Linked DNA regions of Homo sapiens: region 2 is linked to region 1. The links are contacts of gene promoters, found by promoter capture Hi-C in human tissues and cell types (Jung and others, 2019). All regions are on one chromosome and are shown on one strand. The core of a region is centred on a gene start or on the middle of the fragment in contact, and the rest is flanking DNA. Distances in the headings are between cores, read along the strand shown. Region 1 holds the start of S100A2 (S100 calcium binding protein A2). Region 2 has its middle 7.1 kb from the start of S100A12.

The links. Contacts are between HindIII fragments. The study calls those that stand out against the background at their distance.
Region 2: a contact is called between a fragment that was not itself captured here and the fragment with the promoter of S100A2 in region 1, in 1 of the 25 tissues and cell types used here (spleen).

What each region holds. Positions count from the first base shown.
Region 1 is chr1:153,564,059-153,567,467 of GRCh38, forward strand. It overlaps S100A2 (S100 calcium binding protein A2), which reads right to left and starts at 1,786. Exons shown (of 3, transcript NM_005978.4): 1 at 1,448-1,786. RefSeq lists enhancers at 143-900, 901-1,658, 1,778-1,837, 1,811-3,010, 2,708-2,947 and 1 more. The HindIII fragment of the contact is 11,510 bases long and covers 1-3,409 here.
Region 2 is chr1:153,381,057-153,384,465 of GRCh38, forward strand. No RefSeq gene overlaps it. Among named protein-coding and RNA genes, the nearest start is that of S100A12, 7.1 kb to the left of the region's middle. The HindIII fragment of the contact is 6,662 bases long and covers 1-3,409 here.

The sequences.
Region 1 (3,409 bases), core at 536-3,035:
GATACCTCCATCTCACCCTGAGGGCAGACGCTAAAGCTTCCCTTGTGTCTGGGAGTCACCAAGCCTCCTCTGATGGCACTTGGGACACCCCCCTGAGGGCAGGGCTCCCCATTTTAGTGTCTGCCAGAAGGGAAATGACAGGGTGACCAGAGTCCCATTTTGATGGCATCTGCGCAGGCTCTGGGGAGCAGGGCCACATGCACCGGCTGGCAGATGGGGGCTCCTGTGCAGTCTGGCAGGAGCCATGGCTACAGCCTAGGAGCAGGAAGCTCCCTGAAGGAGTCGTTTCCCTCCTTAGACTCGGGACTCCTGAAGCCAGAGGCATCTCTCTCTGCCATCTAACTGGAAGCTCCCTTGGGCAGGAGTGTTTCCTCTCTCAGACTAGGAGCTCCCAGAGGGTGGGGAATGTGTCTCCCCTCACCCTGAAGGCCCCTGAGCCTCTAGGCAGACAGGGGCATGGATAGGGTGGGGGCAACTTAACATTCTCTCCACCAGGAAGGATCCTGTTGGAATTAGAATTAAAGATATGAAATGTTCATTGCCTTGGGATCAGGATGGGACAGACCTCAGCGGCAAGGCCTCTGAGAATACTCAGACCAGCCTGGAAAGGTTAGGCAGGTTTCAGGGTGAGGCCAGAGGAGCTATGCCAGAGGCAGGGCATGCCCTGGGCCCATCATGCCAGCCCTGCCTTCACCGAGGCAGGGGGCAGAGCTTTGCTGCTTGGGGCCATGACCCAGGCAGAGTCTTGAGACCCCTGCCTCTTGCACCTTAGTCCTGCTAGAATCCAGGACTTTGCAAAAAAAAAAAAAAATCTCAGGATTCTTTTTGCAGCAACGCCCACATGCACACCTCCTGCTCCTAGGCCTAGACCCCCAAAGAAGGGCCCCTAGACTGAGATATCCAGGGGAGGGCCTCAGAGCAACCCCTGCACTGAGACCTCACAGAGGAACCTGGAGAAAAACCCTTCAGTCGGCCGGGCGCGGTGGCTTACTCCTGTAATCCCAGCACTTTGGGAGGCCGAGATGGGTGGATCACGAGATCAGGAGATCGAGACCATCCTGGCTAACATGGTGAAACCCCATCTCTACTAAAAATACAAAAAAATTAGCCGGGCATGGTGGTGGGCGCCTGCAGTCCCAGCTACTCGGGAGGCTGAGGCAGGAGAATGGCGTGAACCTGGGAGGGGGAGTTTGCAGTGAGCTGAGATCACACCACTGTACTCCAGCCTGGGCGACAGAGCGAGACTCCATCTCAAAAAAAAAAAAAAAAAAAAAAAACCCTTCAGTCAACACTTCAGCACTTCACAGAGAGTTCTTCCAAGGGGGAAGGCCCAGAGAGGCCCAGGTTGATCCCACCAGGGAAGCTGGAATGAGAGAACTGTGGAGACAAAGACAGAGACCCACGGGGATCCTCCCCACCCTGCCCTCAGCAGGACAGAGGTACTCACCAGACCAGGTGGCAGAGACAGACCCAGGAAGGAGAGCAAGGCAGCCAGGCTCCCAGGGTGAGGATTTATATGTGGGCCCCACTGGCCCCCAACTTGGCATTTTAAGGAAACCAAACCTGCCTCAACCTGATCCCACCAAACCCTGGCCTCTTGCCATTCCCACTCATTCCCTCCCAGCCCCCTCCCTCCCAGAGAGTGCCAGCTCCACCACCAGCTGGGGGAGGGCTCTAGGCCAGGTCAAGGGCAGCCCCTGAGCCCACCCAGGCCACAGTGGGAAGTGGGAGGTGTCGTGGGGACTGGGCATCCTGGACCGGGGTGAGGGGAGGCAACCCCTGCTCTGGGGCCTGGAGACTGGTGCCAGGCCTCATTCTCATGACATGCCTGTGAGTCACAGCCCACTCCTGTGTGAGAGGCTGTGAGCACACGCTGAGACTTCATGGTCCAGTGCTCGTGTACATACATGCGCCCGTGTGTGTGAGAGAGAAGCAACCTGGGGCCACCCTTAGGAAGCTGGGGGCCAGAGGAGGCAGCTGGGGGACATCAGGAGGAGAAGGACAGGACTGACTTCAGGGCATGGATGAAGTGGAGTGACTTTTAATGGCCAGCACCAGAATACCTCTTAATGAGGTAATGAGGTAACTAAGTGTGCTTAGAAATACCTGGGAAGGTCCCTCTGTGTAGGAAGGTGTCTGGAAGGATGGGGAAGCAGTGAGAAATGGGGTTGCTCTACACACAGCCGCAGTTGGGCTGGGCCACAGTCTGTGGGGAGCATAAGGAAGTCCCGAGTAGTTAAAGGCTGAACAGGAAAACTTTGGCCTCCTCTTCTCCAGCTTGAGGGCTGGGTGGGTGGGTAGGGGTACATCCCTACCCAAGGCTGAAAACACCAGCTGGACAGCTTCCCAAGCCAGAATCCAGGCCTGAAGCACAGCCCTCAGCCACAGCCCTCTCTCACTGCCCCCCACACACATGTCCTCCCCAGACCCGGAGAAAGGCAAACACTGTGGCCATTCAGAGCCCAGCCCAAGGGAGGGCTGCCCCCTCCCAGGGCCCCTTCCTCCTTGGCCCTTTGTCTATCCCGGCCCGTCTGGGCATCAGGGCACCGCCCTTCCTGTGGCCCCAGCTCCCCTCCCTGCTCCAGCTGTCGAGTAGCTTCTTCCCCTCCCCCAGCCCCTCTACCTCAGCCCTAAGTGACTCACCCGAGGTTCCAGGCCCAGATGCCCAGGCAGTGACTCAGCGGCACACCCTCCTCCCCCAGGGCCAGGGCAGCAGCAGTCCCAGAGCAGTAGGTGGAAGCCCCAGCCCAGCCTGGCAGGGAAAGCACTGGCACAGAGACCCCAAACAGGCCCTGCCAGGAGGAGCTTTGGATAATGACATGGCAGGAGGATCAGACTGAGAACAGGCTGGTCCCTTCCTAGCGGTCACCGTGTGACTTGGGGGCCAGCCTGAGCAGTGTACATGAAGTCAGGCCTTGGGGCCCCCAGTGTCCTCTTCTACACCTTGGCACAGCCACCGAGTGTCCCTTGCTCCCCTCAGTACTTGAACCCCTCATGCTACTTGTCTTCCCATCGAGGCCTACTTCAAGTAGAACTCGGAATAAAAACCCTTCACACTGAGGGTGAGGGACAAGGGAGCGCAATGCATCGATTTTCACAGCCATTCTTTCCTTTTAACTAAGGGCCTCCACAGGGCCTTCCCTGCTCAGAAACTGCAGTGCATCCCCATGGCTGTCCCTTAAAGCCAGGCGGTATGTTCTCACTCATAAGTGGGAGTTGAACAATGAGAACATATGGACACAGGGAAGGGAACACCACATACCAGGGCCTGTGGGCAGTTGCGGGGAGAAGGATGGGGGCAAGGGGAGGGAGAGCATTAGGACTAATACCTGATGCATGCGGGGCTTAAAACCTAGATGATGGGTTGATAGGTGCAGCAAACCACCATGGCACATGTATACCTATGTAA
Region 2 (3,409 bases), core at 537-3,036, 180 kb before region 1:
AAATGACGAGTTAATGGGTGCAGCACACCAACATGGCACATGTATACATATGTAACAAACCTGCACATTGTGCACATGTACCCTAGAACTTAAAGTATAATAAAAAATATATATATATAAAGAAGATATTAATAGAAAGATCTCAAATTAACAACCCAACCTCCACCTAAAGTAATTAGAAAAACAAGAACAACTAAGCTCAAAGCTAGCAGAAGAAAAGAAGTAACTAAAATAAGAGCAGAACTAAGTGAATTGAGACCCAAAAAGCCATACAAAGGATCAGTGAAAGGAAAACTTGCTTTTTTGAAAGGATAAACAAGATTGATAGACCATTAGCTAGATTAACAAAGAAAACGAGAGAAGATCGAAATAAACACAATCAGAAATGACAAAGGTGACATTACAACCGATTCCACAGAAATACAAGAGATCCTCAGAGATATGAACCTCTCTATGAGTACAAACTAGAAAATCTAGAGGAAATCAATACATTCCTGGAAACACAACCTCCCAAGACTGAGTCAAGAAGAAATAGAATTTCTGAACAGACCAATAACAAGTAATGAAAATAAATCAGTAATAAAACACCTACCAACAATAGCAACAACAAAAAACCCTGTATCAGACGGATTCATAGTCAAATTCTACTAGATCTACAAAGAAGACCTGGTATCAATCCTAAAGAAACTATTACAAAAAATCAAGGAGGGACTCCTCCCTAACTCATTCTATGAAACCAATATCCTCATGACACCAAAATTTGGCAAAGGCACAACAAAAAAAGAAAACTACAGACCAATATCCCTGATGAGCATAGACATAAAACTCTTCAACAAAATACTAGAAAACCAAATACAGCAGCATATCAAAAAGTTGATTTCCCAAATAAGTGGGCTTTATTCCTGGAATGCAGGGATGGTTCAACATATGCAAATAAATACATGTGATTCACCACATAAACAGAATTAAAAACAAAAACTATATGATCATCTCAATCAATGCAGAAAAGCATTCAATAAAAATTCAACATTTCTTCATGATGAAAGCTCTCAATAAAATAGACATCAAAGAAACATACCTCAAAATAATAAGAGCCATCTATGACAAACCCACAGTTGACATCATACTGAATAAGCATAAGTTAGGTGCATTCTGCCTAAGAACTGGAACAAGACAAGGATGTCTACTCTCACTATTCCTATTCAACATAGTACTGAAAGTCCTAGCCAGAGCAATTAGACATGAGAAAGAGATAAAAGGAACCCAAATTGAAAAAGAGCGAATTACTTCTTTTCACTGACAATATGATTCTATGTCCAGAAAACTCTAAAGATTCTTCCAAAAGACTCCTAGACCTGATAAACAACTTCAGCAAATCTCAGAAAACAAAATCAACATAGAAAAATCAGTAGCATTTCTATACACCAATAATATTCAAGCTGAGAACCAAATCAAAGATGCAATTCCATTTACAACAGCCACACACAAAAAATAAAATACCTAAGAAAATATCTAACCAGCAAAGTGAAAGACCTCTACAAAAAGAACTACAAAACACTGCTACAAGAAATCATAGATGACACAAACAAATGAAAAAGCATGCCATGCTCATGGATTGGAAGAATTGATATAGTTAATAAGTCCACATTGCCCAAAGCAATCTATAGATTCAATGCTATTCCTATCAAATTACCAAGGTCATTTTTCACACAACTTTACAAAACTCGTCTAAAATTCATATAGAAGCAAAAAGAGCACAAATAGCCAAAGCAATCTTAAGCAAAAAAGAATATAACCAGAGGTACCACATTACCCAATTTCAAACTACACTACAAGTCTACAGTAACCAAAACAGCATGGTATTGGTACAAAAATAGACACATAGACCAATGGAACAGCATGGAGACCACTGAAATAAAACCACATACCTACAACCAACTGACCTTGAACAAGGCTGGCAAAAATAAACAATGGGGAAAGGAAATCTTATTCAATAAATGGTGCTGGGGAAACTGGCTAACCATATGCAGAAGAATGAAACTGGACCCTTACCTCTCACCACATACAAAAATTAACTCAAGATGGATTAAAGACTTAAATGTTAAGACCTTAAACTATTAAAATCCTGGAAGAAAACCTAGGAAATACTCTTCTAGACATGTTCTAGGCAAAGAATTTATGGTTAAGTCCTCAAACGCAATGCAACAAAAACGAAAACTGATATGGGACCTAATTAAACTAAAAAGCTTCCACGCAGTGAAAGAAACTAATAACAGAGTAAACAGACAATCTACAGAATGGGAGGCAATATTCACAAACTATGCATCTGACAAAGGGCTAATACCCAGAATCTATAAGGAACTCAAACAACTTAACAAGAAGAAAACAAATAACCCCATTAAAAAGTGGGCATAGAACATGAACAGACATTTCTCAAAAAGAAACACAAGTAGCCAACAAACATGCAAAAACTAATCATCAGAGAGATGTGAATCAAAACCACAAGAAATATCATCTCACATCAGTCAGGATGACTATTATTTAAAAGTCAAAAAAATAACAGTTGTTGGCAAGGTTGGAGAGAAAAAGGAATGATTATATACTGTTGGTAGAATGCAAATTAGTTCAGCATTTTGGAGATTTCTCAAAGAACTAAAAATAGAATTGCCATTCAACCCATCAATCCCGTTACTGAGTATATACCCAAAGGAAAAGACACCTGCACTAGTATGTTTATCAAAGCACTATTCACATTAGCAAAGACATGGAATCTACCCAGGTACCTATCAATGGTGGGTTGGATAAAGAAAATGTAGTACATATATGTCATATATGTCAATACTATGAAGCATAAAAAAGAACACTATCATGTCCTTTGCAGCAACATGGATGCACCTGGAGGCCATTACGCTAAGTGAATTAATGTAGAAACAGAAAACCAAATACCAGAATTTCTCACTTATATGTGAGAGCTAAACACTGAGTACACACAGACAAAAAGATGGGAGTGGTAGACACTGGGGATTCCAAAAGGAGGGAGGGCAGGAGGGGCACCAGGGTTGAAAAGTTACCTAACAGGTACTATGTTCACTATTTGGGCAATGAGATCATTCGCAGCCCAAGCCTCAGCATCATGCAATATACCCATGTAACAAACCTGCACATGTATATCCTGAATCTAAAATAATTTTTTTTTTTTACAAAAAGGCCAAAGAAGGATCCTTCAGATGGCCTCACTGTTTGAAACCAACGGGCTGGGTCTGCCTGTGGATCCCTTCCCCTGTGTCTGTACAATCCCTGAGGTGTTTACTCAGGTACAGCAGGAGGTGTTGGCAACAACCAAAGGCCACTCTGCTCTGCCAGCAGATGATCAGAGGCTGTTCAGGTGTTCATCACCAGCTTAGTTAAT